Regions from separate parts of the Homo sapiens genome. Here regions 1 and 3 are each linked to region 2. Evidence: promoter capture Hi-C in 16 types of primary human blood cells and fetal thymus (Javierre and others, 2016). All regions are on one chromosome and are shown on one strand. The core of a region is centred on a gene start or on the middle of the fragment in contact, and the rest is flanking DNA. Distances in the headings are between cores, read along the strand shown.

Region 1 (4,234 bases), core at 1,415-3,914, 6.1 Mb before region 2:
CCAAAGTTGAGGTAGAAGGCAGGACTCAACTCCAGTGTGGGGCTGGGACACTGGACCAAATTGAGGACCAGCTTTCCATAAGGCACACCCATCAGTGTGCCATGGCAACATCCAGAAGTTATCACCCCTTTCCATGGCAACAACCCAACAACCCAGAAGTTACCACACTTTCCTAGACATTTCTGCATAAACCACCCCTTAATTTGCATATAATTAAAAGTGGATATAAATATGAGTGCAGAACTGCCTCTGAGCTGCTACTCTGGGCACAGTGCCTCTGGGGTATCCCTGCTCCGCAAGCAGTGCCTCTGCTACTGCCGTACACTGCCACTTCAGTAATAGTTGCATTCTAACACCACCAGCTCACCCTTGAATTCTTTCCTGGGTGAAGCCAAGAACCCTCCTGGGCTAAGTCCCAATTTTGAGGCTTCCCTGTGCTGCATCAATGTCACAGTCTTGCTTAAGGCTGACCATTTGTATCAACATGTATGTTTTTCCCCTATCACTTCATTCAATTCTGCTTCTGACAGCTGCTCTTCCATTTCTAGTGATTTCTCCAACACATCTCTGCTGAGAAGGAGGGGCTGAAGGAAAAGGCCTGAGCTATAAGGACACAGATATCAGGGTTCAGACCTCGGCTCTAATACTTACAAGTTATATGACATTCGGCAAACTTCTCCATATATTTTCATCTGGTGTATTTCTTCTCTATGAGTCATTCATGTACAGAGAAGTCTTAGTGCCTTGGGGATCTTCAGGAACATTACACACCTCTCAGCAACAACTTTGGAACACCCAGTTTCGTACTAATGCTCCTTTTTGAGCATTTGAATGATTTCTGCAGCATAATTTTTGTAGCAATAATAGTGAACCATAAAAACTCAATGGCCTCATTATCAAGTCATCTGCACAGGGCCAATTGATTTGGATGATATCAATTCTCTTAATCCTTCCCTGGAGTGCAGTGGGGCAGAGTCCTGCTTGCTTATTTTACACAGAAGAAAAACTGCTGCAGCTCCTAGGCACCCCAGCTTTGTTCCTGGAAATACGAGGAAATGCAAAGGTGTGGCATCCCTACTGGCAATCTACTGTATTCCCATGTGGGCATGGTGAAATCTCCTTCACATAGATTGCAGGAGCACCTCCCTGACTGCTGAGGTCCTGTGGAAAGGGAACTTGAACACCATCCGGAATATAGGAATTTTTTTATGGGGGGAATGGTGAATAGACAGACAGAGTTCATTTCCAGATTTTTATTCACTCTAAGCTTTTTCAGATTCAGTGTCTCTGGGGTGCGCATTGTTGAGCATCTTTACACTTCAGCCTGCTGCCATCAAACCCTGGACTTTATCCCAGAGCTACAAATGAGATCTCAGCCCTGGAGTTGTCTGTCATGAGCCTCGGGGCCTGCTTTGCTGTGACTGGACACTCTACCATCTGTCTGTCAGCTTTGAAGCGCTTCCCTCTTTTGTCCCAGGAATGCAATTAAGCAAGTTACTTGGAGCTGTGCCTTCAATAATCTTACTGGAGGTTTACACAGTCATAGGGTGAGTTAACAGGGTAAGGGTTTAATCAGTGAGTTGGATGAGGAAAGTATTTTGTTTCTTGGCTTAGTTTTGCATGGTAGCATTTGTCTCCTTATGTAAACAGAGTGCAAGTTACTATCCTGCCATCTTCTATACCGTATTGAATTACCAATGTAATTGTAATCAGCACTTCTGGAAAGTGCTGATGGCCTATTTTGTACTTGTTTGTGTTAATCAATGTTAATTACAAAGCAAGCACAGGGGTTAACGAATTATAATGGGCTTAATTAAGCTTGACAGTAACAAATGGCATAACCTTTATGTTATGGCCTGGTTAAAGTAACAAAAAAAAAAAAGGGACAAAATAGACCAGAAAATCATCACATAGGAATCCATATTCATATACTGATTACCTACAGGAACAGAATAGTGTAAGGAATTTATTGGTTTTGCTAATTGTCAAGTTAAATTTTTACCACACTGGCACTACTAGGAGTACAGAGAACTATTAGGCCTGACTTTTACCCTCAAAGAATTTGTAATTTTGTTGGAAAAGAGACACAGAAAACCAAGTTTTAAAATGGTCCAATGAGTCACAAGTGAGTGATGCCTACCATGTTACAAAGCATTTGGAAGAGACAGGGATCACCGTGGGTTGGTGCAGTGGAGGAAGACTAGGGAAGGTAGAACTCAAAGAAAGAACTCGATGGAGGAGAGGAGGGAAGTAGGCATTCTTACTGGATGCATGGGTGGAGCAAAGGTTTGGAGGTAGGAATGCAAATACTGTGTTCAGTGAGCATGCATGCTTCTGTGAATCTGCTTCATTGATTTAAGTGTCACAGAGGGGTAAGGAAAGTGTTGTCCACAGTCACACTACCTGGTCTGAGCCTTGATCTCCCCGTGTATGGAGTAAGAAATGACCACAAAGACACTTCCGGCGCCCAACTACAGCTGCAAAAGCCCTTGAGCAGGGCCTTTTCTCATTAGATGAGATAGGATGTATTTGGATGCAAGCAATAACACACACACCCTAAACAGAATGGCTTCCATAACAATCATCTGTTTACTGCTCCTAAGTCTACTGGTCAGCTTGGTTGTTCCGCTGGTCTGGACGGGCTCAGTTGTTCTGGGCTGTTCTCACTCATACATCTGATGACTTGGTGGAGGTTGGCTGGTGTGAGGTGGCCCCACTCACATGTCTGGTGGCTGCCTGGCTATTGGTTGCAGTGCTGGATTTGACTGGGACACACCAACATTCAGTAGGTTAGCCTGGGCTTGCTTACATGACAGCAGCAAGTTTCCTAGAGCCAGGGTTAGGAAGCATGCAAGGCCTCTGAGGCCAAGGCTTAGAAACAACATGAAGCCAATTCTGCTGCATTCTGTGTGCCAAGGGAAGTTCCAGGGCCAGCCATATTGAAGAGGTGGAGAAAGAGATTCTACTTCCCATTGAGGGGAGCTGCAAAATGACATCGCAAGGTATGAGTCCAGGGAAGAGAAGCATTTACAACTATTTTTAAACTTTACACTGTGCTTCAGGTAAAGAGGCTTTCTCACTATTCCAGAAGCAGGACTCGCTTTTCCAACACTAAACATTTGTTCAAGGAATTTCCTCTGCTTTAGAAGTCACCTCCTCACCATTTTCTGGGTTCAAATCTGTCCCTCCTGCAAGACCGATCTCCAAAACTAATTCATCCATGAAACTTTTCCCAATCACTTTAAATAAACATGGTTTCTCACTCTTTCGAAGTTAAAATGAGGCCACAGACTCTACAGTCTATCAGTTCTGAACTATTTATGACCACATAGTTTTATATATATGGTTGCATACAGTTATATGCAATTGAAAACAATCATTTTTATCTTAGTATATAAAATGACTATGATTTAGGGTGATAGCGTCTATTAAATTGAATCTAATGTGATTTCTTTATTCACTTTTGCTATAAAAGAAAGCAGGCATTCATGGTTACCTGCCTAAAGCTTTACTAAAATTACTTAGTACGATTTTTGCAATTATCTTTACTGTGATTTTGGAGCTCAGATTTTCTCTCTAGCCCCAAAGTATACTTTTTCAAATTATTCCTGCTTTTAATGTTTAGTATTTTAGAAGATTCTAAATATACTTTAAATTTTGTGACTTAGAAAATGAAAATCGTAGGCCAGACGCAGTGGCTCACACCTGTAACCCCAGCACTTTGGGAGGCCAAAGCAGGTGAATCACTTCAGGCCAGGAGTTTGAGACCAGCCTGGCCAACATGGTGAAATCCTGTCTCTATTAAAAATACAAAAATTAGCCAGGTGTGGTGGCAGGCACCTGTAATCTCAGCAGCTTGGGAGGCTGAGGCAGGAGAATCACTTGAACCCGGGAGGTGGAGGTTGCAGTGAGCCAAAATAGCGCCACTGGACTCCAGCGTGGGGGACAGAACAAGACTCTGTATCAAAAAAAAAAAAAAAAAAAAAAAAATTGGTGCTGGGTTTGGACTTGGTATCTGTGATTCCTGTCTCTGGTACTACTATTTATTATACATTTATTTGAAAACCAGGAAAACACTTGTTTTTCTCATTGGCTCACCACATAGCTCTTAAATTCAACTTAAGTCCCTTGGTGTAAGGCACTCCTGTAGGAGACACTAAGTGTATCATGTGATATAATGCTTCTGGTGAGTGCTTCTAGCACATAGGGAAATCGATGGGTTTATGAGGTGTCA
Region 2 (4,300 bases), core at 1,570-4,069:
ATTGAACTGCTGTCCACATGCAAACTTTTGAGTTCAACTTTTAACAAATTAAAAGTACAAATATGCATACAAGATATGAGAAAGCAAGAAGCACAGTAAACAACTTTTAAAAAAAAAACGCAAACCAGTGGTAAATTGGATGCTAAGACTTACAGAGAAAACCCTACATTTCAGATGTTATAACAGAAATTACATATAAGTATATTGGGATGACAAAATCTCTTTTCAACTTTTTGGAAAGCTAAATTGACGCCCTAACATCAAGTCAATGAACTAAAAGCACAGAAAAAAACCTGTCAAATATCCATTGCATTTAGAACATGCAATAAATTGATAATACACTGTGAATCTAGTTAAGAAGCACGGGTTGAACAAAGAATGGGCCAGGCCGGGCGTGATGTCTCAGGCCTGTGATCCCAGGACTTTGGAGGCCAAGGCGGGTGGATCACCTGAGGTCAGGAGTTCGAGAACAACCCGGCCAACATGGCGAACCCTGTCTCTACTAAAAATACAAAAATTAGCCGGGGGTGGTGGCGCGCGCCTGTAATCCCAGCTACTGGGAACGCTGAGGCAGGAGAATTGCTTGAACCCGGGGGGCGGAGATGGCAGTGAGCCAAGATCGCGCCACTGCACTCCAACCTGGGCAACAGAGCGAGACTCCATCTAAAAAAAAAAAGAAAGAAAGAAAGGGCTGTATCTTTAGCCCATGCCCTGAATCAATGTTCCTTGAACTTTAAGGTACACTTCTTGAGGAAGATTCTGATTCAGCAGCTCTGGGGTGAGAGTCATGAAGTGTAATTCTAACAAGCTCCCAGGGATGCTGATGCTGGTGGTAGGTGAAATGAACTTGGAGCAACAAGGCCCTAAGTAACTGGAATATTAGTTTTAACGCTAGCCAACTGGCTTACAAATATCGTTATGTCTAGGATCCAAGAAGTAAGTGTCAATACCATTAATTCCTACACCCGGCCAAAAAAATTAAAAACTAAAAATAAAAAAAAATAGTTCAGGGGAAGGAGAAAGCAAATACTTGTTTATACAGTCTAGCAGTGCTAAGAACCATAAAATACTGTTATTTGTCTCAACCTAGTAGATGTCAAGGTGATAAAATGTAGGCTCCATGAGTTAATGGATTTTTTTTAGCTAACTCCTGAATCCTTATGGCCTAGCACAAATTAGGTACTCAAGAAATGCAATGAATAAATGAATGAATGGGAAGTATATACAAACGCAATCTGTATTTACCTCACATCTCCAAAAATGTCTGGGAAGGGGGAGGTATTTGTACTGCTGGATGCAGGTAGCCATGATTTGATACAAATACCTGGCCCATCTACTGCATTCCCTTTGTGCAAAGACAGTTAACTTTCCTGAATAATATCTCCACCGTAATGCCCATGCTCATGGCATCCTGATGTTTAGCAACTTTTTGGCTTTTTGAAAACAATGAAGAAAGGTGGAAGTACAGGGAGAAGGATTCGGAAAAGTCTCAAAAAATCAAAGCCAAAAACCAGGAGGGAGGAGATGGGCAAACAGTTCAGTTCACTTGAAGGAACATCTGAGGTTGTCAGAGGTCCATGTGCTTACCTATGATGGTGGCGGGGTTTGGGCTCGGGCTTTATATGTTTTGTTACTGTCCAGGGTCACTGGCGGAGTAGTACCTGGCTGTGGAAACTCGGACTACACAGGTAGCCGGAACTGCAGCCAACCTTCAGAAGCTTAAGGGAAGCACTTTCGCGCTTACTTCCTCCTTCCCAGGGTCTCCGCGCGCGTTTGGGAACTCAGCCGCCGCCCAAACACAAAATGATCTGGGCAGCTTCGCTGCAGGATTGAGGCCACAGCCAGGATTTAAGATGGCAGCGAAACACTTCGATGGCCCGTGGAATCTGCCCAAAAGAAAAATGGCCTCTGTTCAGAATATCGCGGCTTTCAAAGTGGGCCCAAAACAAAAATGGCGCCGGACGCAGGCTATTTTTAAAGGCTGGGACCCCAATGACTCTCATTAGCAAATAACGTATCATGGTAACTCACGGTGCTAGGCAGTTGAACTGACCGAGAGAAAAAAAAACGCTTTTCTGTGGTGTGTTTTCTTAACATTGGAAAATGACTAGCTCAAGAATGGAACATATATTCGGTGCGAAAGATTGTGAGAAAGGAAAGGTAGCTTTCACAGTGCCGGATAAATTTTAATAAAAATAGCCATGTTTGAACATAACTTCCTATATGTTTTTTAATGTTAAAAGAGAATAAAAGTTTTGTCCTGGAACCCAGAAGCAGGATGGGGAAATGCCGGGTGAATTATCTAATCTGTGAAGAGTACGAGCTGCGAAACTCCGCACTTCCCTGTAAGCCCTCAGGAAGGACTGAGGGCGGATGCTTTAGTAGAAGGCAACTAGCTCTCACGGCGCATGTCCGTTTTCCAAACCCGATCCCGGGAGTTACGGGAGAGTAAAAATCCTGATTTTCCAGACAACCGCACAGAGAGGCGGGATACTGGCGCTGAGCGACAAATCCAAGCGCTTTGTAATTGGTCATGTCAGGACAGAGAGCAGAGCGCAGTGGACTATTTCTTTCTTTCATTCAATAAATCATTGTCAAGCGCTCACCAAAAGGCAGAAGCTGTGCCATTTTGATATGTTATTTAAATTTTATGCGTTCTTTTAAAATTTCAGTTTCAACAATTTGCTGGAATATACGCTGAATAAACTTCGCTCCCCGTTTTTTCCGGTGACGGCCGCTGTTGGCTGGAGCTTCACGGAAAACCCGGAGAAGCGGAGTGGGGGCGGCCCGGCGTCGACCGCAGAGCTGCGCGTGCTCCGTGCCCTCGCGCGACGCGAAGGTTGTCGGGATCCGCGGCAGCAGCGGCTGCTTGAGATCTGTTTCTGGGGCCTCTGGCGGTGGCGGCCTGGGGCGGCGCGACGGCTGGTGCGCAGGTGAGAGCGCTGGGACTCTAGGTGGAAAAGCCCGCTTTGTGTCCGGCCGAAGAGAGGGGAAGGGGCTTGTAGGCGCCTCCCTCTCCACCCCCAAAGGTCACCGGTGTCCTCACTGAAGGATATTTGAGGGCGGGGACAAGGAGGAGGCTGGCTCTCTGTAGGAGGCGAAAGACCGACCTCTGAAATAGCTGCCGATGGTAAATGTTGCGGTCGGCACGGATGCGGGCGGCGAGGAGGTCTTCCCGCCGGTGGGGAGAGCTGGAGGAGTGGCGCCTCACCACGCTCCCACCTGCGCTGCCGCCTTCTACGCCGAACCTGTGACTCCCCGTCCCCTCCCTCGCTGGGAGGGGCCCCGTGTGCCCCTGACTGTCTGGAGGGTGCACGGTGTACCCCAGGCTGTCGGGAGGTGGGGGCCGCCCTCCGACGGCGTTAGAGACGTTGTGCAGCGTGGCCCTGCCAGCTACGTGAAAGCAGCCGCGGGGCTTGCAGGGCTGTGGACCTTGTAGGGATGACCCTCTAAGGTCATGCTCGTCTTCCTCCCCGATAAGACCATACCCAAATCCTGTTGCCGTTTCAGAGACTCAATATGACGGTTTCATTCATTCATTAACATCTTCAGTTTATCCATAAACAGATATACACGTGTCTACAGCACTGCCGAGTTAGTAGATACGGCAGTGACCAAGAGGGACTTGCACGGTCCTGACTCCATGTTCTAGTGATGGGGGAGAAACAATACGCTCCCTATCCATGAGTTCCGCATGTGTGAATTCAACCAACTGCGGATAGAAAATATTTTGGGGCGGCGGGGTTTGGTGGCTCACCCCTGTAACCCCGCACTTTAGGAGCCCGAGGCGGGCGGATCACTTGAGTCAGGAGTTTGGGGCCAGCCAGGCCAACGTGGCGAAACCCGGTCTCTGCTAAAAGTACAAAAAAATGAGCCGGGCGCAGTGGCGCACGCCTGTAATCCCAGCTACTTGGGAGGTTGAGGCAGGAGAATCGCTTGAGCCCTGGAGGCGGAGGTTGCGGTGAGCGGAGATCACGCCACTGCACTCCAGGTTGGGCGACAGAGACTCTATTTAAGAAAATAAATAAATAAAAACATTCTGGGGGAAAAAAGATGGTTACATCTGTACTGAACACGTGCAGACCTTTTTTCTTGTCATTCCCTAAACACTGCAGTGTAACAACTACTTACATAGCATTTAACGTTGTATTAGGTATTATAAGTAGCCTAGAGATTATTTAAGGTACATGGAAGGAGGTGGCAAGTTGTGTACAAAACTACACGATTTTTTTTTTTTTTTTTTTTTTTTTTGACAAAGAGTCTCGCTCTGTCGCGCAGGCTGAAGCTGGATCTCTGCTCA
Region 3 (4,140 bases), core at 1,280-3,779, 6.3 Mb before region 2:
GACCTTCACTTTTTTCATCTGTAAAATAGGGATCCTAATAGTACCTCCTTCTAGTTGTTGTAAGCATTAAATGAGCTAAAATAAATGTAAAGTGATTGGCACATTGTCAGACACAATAAATGCTCAAAAATGTTATTTCTGAATTCTGGCTATAACTTGGTTCTACTGGTGAGGCAGGTAGCTGTCAAATAAGTTGGTTTTATCAGCTGGGAATTTTTATTTTTTAAAAACACCCAAAGTTGCAACAACTTGAAAATAATATAAGCTTTTTAAGGGTGGGGTTTTTGTCTGCTCTGTTCACTCAAGTACCCTTAGTAATGGGAAAAGTGACTGATAATTAATATGCATTGGATAATTCAATGAATGACATGGAAAACTAGGCAACAGTAAAACAAATATGCTTTGAACATGCACCTGAGTGTAGAGAATGTTAAGGGATCACAGAAAAGCATCGTTTTATTATATAGATCTAAAACTAGAAGAAATGGCTGAGTGTAGTAGCTCACACCTGTAATCCTAGCATTTGGGGAGGCTGAGACAGGAGGACTGGTTGAGTCCAGGAGTTCAAAATCATCCTGGGCAACATAGTGAGATCTCATCTCTAAAATAAATAAACCAATGAGAAGAAATGTCCTATCTCAGTCAAAGAATTATATCTTTAACAAATTAAAAGAGAATATAAACTTAATATAAACAATTTCTAAATAACAAAGGACAAGCTGTTTTGCATATTACTATGAGCATCTCAGCAATTAGTTCTGTTTGATAATAATGAGGATGGCTACACTACTGAGAATAAACTATACTCTGTATTGTATAAGGGGATCTAGCCAAGAGTTGATAACTGTTAAAAGAGAATAAGATGTGATTATACAAAAACACTCCAACCTGGGAAGAAAATACCACAAGAAACACAGAGGCCTGAAGACAGACTGCATGTTGTGTTCTATTAACAATTAAATTACAGCTATTGTACATTACACTGTGAGAAGGAAATCATCCATTGCCAACTCAGCCGCAATGGTCTGCATGCACTTTTCCAGGTTCTTCTAAAAAGAGCCAGTGCATTTTCCTGTCCTTGGGCAGTCACTCTGGGCATTCCAATAACCCGTTAATGATTCTCAGTGGTTTCCTGAACGATTTGAGAAGCCAGTTATTGAGAACAGTACAGGAAGGGAATGATAAGGATCGAATAGCTTTTCTGGTTTTGTGAGAAACCTTGCATAGCCTGGCTATGTAACTATATTAAGAATATTATAGCAGCTAAACTATGGTCACATGTACTGTAAAACATCATCACTTTATAACCAGATCCACTTCTTGAGGGTGAGATCAGGAATCAGATGTCCAAAACTCACATTTTTAAAAACTAGAAGAGCAAATGAGTTTTGTTAGTTCTGCTCAGTCTGTTCTTTCACATTTGGGTTAGGTATCGTGATTTATTTTCCTGTGAAACAGGCTTTTTTTAATCGAGAGAAACAAGGAGGCAGCGTTATAACCACCCTATCCAAGTGTCATGTATTTGCAGATGATAAAACTTGCTTATTTTGGGAGTAGCAGAAAAATTACTACAAACAGTAGGGAATAAAACTGTGCCAAGATGTCTAAATTATAAGGAAGATAACTGAGGTGTCTCTTAGTGACTCTGAATACACATACATTTCCCTACCTTATCTGCACGTGTTTTATGTTTCTCATTAATTGTTTTTGGTATCTTGCTGCAGTAGTTTTAAGAAGGAGCCATGTATAAAGGAAAATGCACCATAAAACTGGTGGATAAATTTTGTCTTATTTATGTTACATAGAGTCACAAAATGTATGGCAATTCGTTTGTATCTTCTTTCTCTCCCCAGGTGGTGATTACATTAAGAAATGTATCTAGAGTGAAATTATTTTCACAACAAGCATTAAACAAATCTAGGCGTTATTGTTGAGCACCAAATCAGGTTTATGTTTTCCAGGGAGGTTGGGATAATGTTGACTGAAACTTCCTAAAAAGCACCACTCTCCCACCCCCAATTCAGGGAGGAAATAATTTTGTGCAATTTTCTTTCATTTTACTTAATTCTTACATTTCATTCTTTGTGGATACATTCTTGCTTTTAGGAATGAAAGAAACCCAAATATGACTATTGCCTCTGATGTTCACTACTGTATTAATGTTAAGAATAGTGTGTCTTTCACATGCAGCAAAATACCCTCTCCCCAGAATGGGTGATGTCTCAGATAGGCTATGAGAATGTGCACATTCCATAAAGTTTGGAAATGGTAGTTTTTCTTTGAGGACCTGATCATTAATCCAAAGAAGTGTGGGGAAAACCTGAACTTTTTTGGTGAACTTTTTGTGAGACATGTAGGTTGTGCTCAGTATTGTATCACCTGCCCTTCCCTAAAGGAGCTAAAGTAGCATCATACAACTGTCGTTCTCTTTGAGACTAGAAAATTAAGATTTCAGTCCCATGAGATGCTCCCATGAAATAAAATATTATGCACACACAACTTTTAAATATAATGGGTTTTGCTTCCCCTATGATTAATCCCTGTAATTTTTTTTGAGTCTTAAGCCTTAGGACAGTTTGAAAACACAAAATTTAAAAAGAACAGCTTTAAAAAAAAAAAAAGACTGTCAGGCCCTGATTGTGTAATTTCAAAAGTGATATATTGTTGATTTCTTGGGCATTCCCCAGATATCTTAATCCAGTGCTGAGAAGCTGCATTTGTAGCAAACTCCCGGATGATGCTGATGCTGCTGGTCCCATACCGCATTTTGGGTAGCAAGAACCTAAGCATTTCTTTTTTAAGAATGGTTGGGGTCGGGCGCGGTGGCTCAGTTTGTAATCTCAGCACTTTGAGAGGCCGAGGCAGGCGGATCACAAGGTTATGAGTTCGAGACCAGCCTGGCCAACACAGTGAAACCCTGTCTCTACTATAAATACAAAATTAGCTGGGCGTGGTGGCAGGCGCCTGTAATCCCAGCTATTCTGGAGGCTGAGGCAGGAGAATCGCTTGAACTCAGGAGGTGGAGGTTGCAGTGAGCCAAGATCATGCCACTGCACTCCAGCCTGGACAACAGAGTCAGATTCTGTCTCAAAAAAAAAAAAAAAGAAGAAAAAAAAGAATGGTTGGTAGGCCAGGCATGGTGGCTCATGCCTGTAGTCCTAGAGCTTTGGGAGGCTGAGGTGGGTGGATCACTTGAGGTCAGGAGCTTGAGACCAGCCTGACCAACATTGTGAAACCCCATCTCTATTAAAAAAATAAAAAATTAAAAAAAATATATATATACACACACAAAAATTAGTCTGGTGCCATAGTGCATGCCTGTAGTCCCAGCTACTTCAGAGGCTGAGGTGGGAAGGTGGGAGAATTGCTTGAACCTGTGAGGTGGAGGTTGCAGTGAGCTGAGATCACACCACTGCACTCCAGCCTGAGTAACAGAGCAAGACCTCATCTCAAAAAAAAAAAAAAGAAAGAAAAGAAAAAAGAAAAAAATGGTTGGTAGATTATTCTAGTATCAAACTGTAGTTATCTCTAGAGCCATAGAGATACTACCAGATACAGAATACTATCTTCCTTTTGAAACACAAATCAACTATTTCTTTCAAAGGAGCTCGTATTTATTTGAAACTTTATTTTAACTGTCTTCTACTGGGCATGTAGACATAAACCTGGAGAGAAAGAAAGTCTGGAATATTTATTCTTTTTAACAGGTGATTGCTTATTTGGGGAGCCCTGGGTCACTTTCTAATTTGTGGTAGTCATTTCAGCTCTTCACAAATACTGTGATTCTTGCTCCTTCCAGGCTCATGGAGGGCTTGCACTACTCTACATCCTTTGAAAATTGGCATGGCCAAGTCACTGCTTTGGCTAATGAATTGTGAGAGCATGAGACATGCATCACTTCCAAGTAGGAGCATCACAGGCCAGTGCACAATTTGCCAGGTGCCCTTTTTCCTGTCCTTGTGATCTTGGAAACATATTGCAAGATGGAACCTCTGTCAAGTGTAGGCACTAATGATTAAAGGACACCCTCCTCCTGCCCAACACACACACACACACACACACACACACACACACACACACACACACACAAATTCAAACTGGTCATGTAATAAAAGCAAGAAATAATTAACTGATATTTAG

What was found. Contacts are between HindIII fragments. The CHiCAGO score rates a contact against its expected background, and 5 or more counts as called.
Region 1: a fragment that was not itself captured here is called in contact with the fragment with the promoter of MKKS in region 2 in 3 of 17 cell types (total B cells, non-activated CD4 T cells and naive CD4 T cells); the score reaches 11.4 in total B cells.
Region 3: a fragment that was not itself captured here is called in contact with the fragment with the promoter of MKKS in region 2 in 3 of 17 cell types (non-activated CD4 T cells, total B cells and naive CD4 T cells); the score reaches 12.0 in non-activated CD4 T cells.

The regions. Positions count from the first base shown.
Region 1 is chr20:16,577,627-16,581,860 of GRCh38, reverse strand. LOC124904875 (a long non-coding RNA gene) reads right to left here. Exons shown (of 2, transcript XR_007067539.1): 2 at 2,502-2,982. Among named protein-coding and RNA genes, the nearest start is that of KIF16B, 6.3 kb to the right of the region's middle. RefSeq lists an enhancer at 316-485. The HindIII fragment of the contact is 1,688 bases long and covers 1,821-3,508 here.
Region 2 is chr20:10,432,741-10,437,040 of GRCh38, reverse strand. It overlaps MKKS (MKKS centrosomal shuttling protein), which reads left to right and starts at 2,819. Exons shown (of 6, transcript NM_170784.3): 1 at 2,819-2,933. It overlaps SLX4IP (SLX4 interacting protein), which reads right to left and starts at 1,736. Exons shown (of 8, transcript NM_001009608.3): 1 at 1,588-1,736. LOC128706665 reads left to right here and starts at 2,819. Exons shown (of 3, transcript NM_001394148.2): 1 at 2,819-2,933. LOC128706666 reads left to right here and starts at 2,819. Exons shown (of 3, transcript NM_001394149.2): 1 at 2,819-2,933. RefSeq lists enhancers at 1,583-1,632, 1,793-2,022, 2,913-2,972. The HindIII fragment of the contact is 4,604 bases long and covers 1,721-4,300 here.
Region 3 is chr20:16,725,026-16,729,165 of GRCh38, reverse strand. No RefSeq gene overlaps it. Among named protein-coding and RNA genes, the nearest start is that of SNRPB2, 2.9 kb to the left of the region's middle. RefSeq lists an enhancer at 1-29. The HindIII fragment of the contact is 4,524 bases long and covers 268-4,140 here.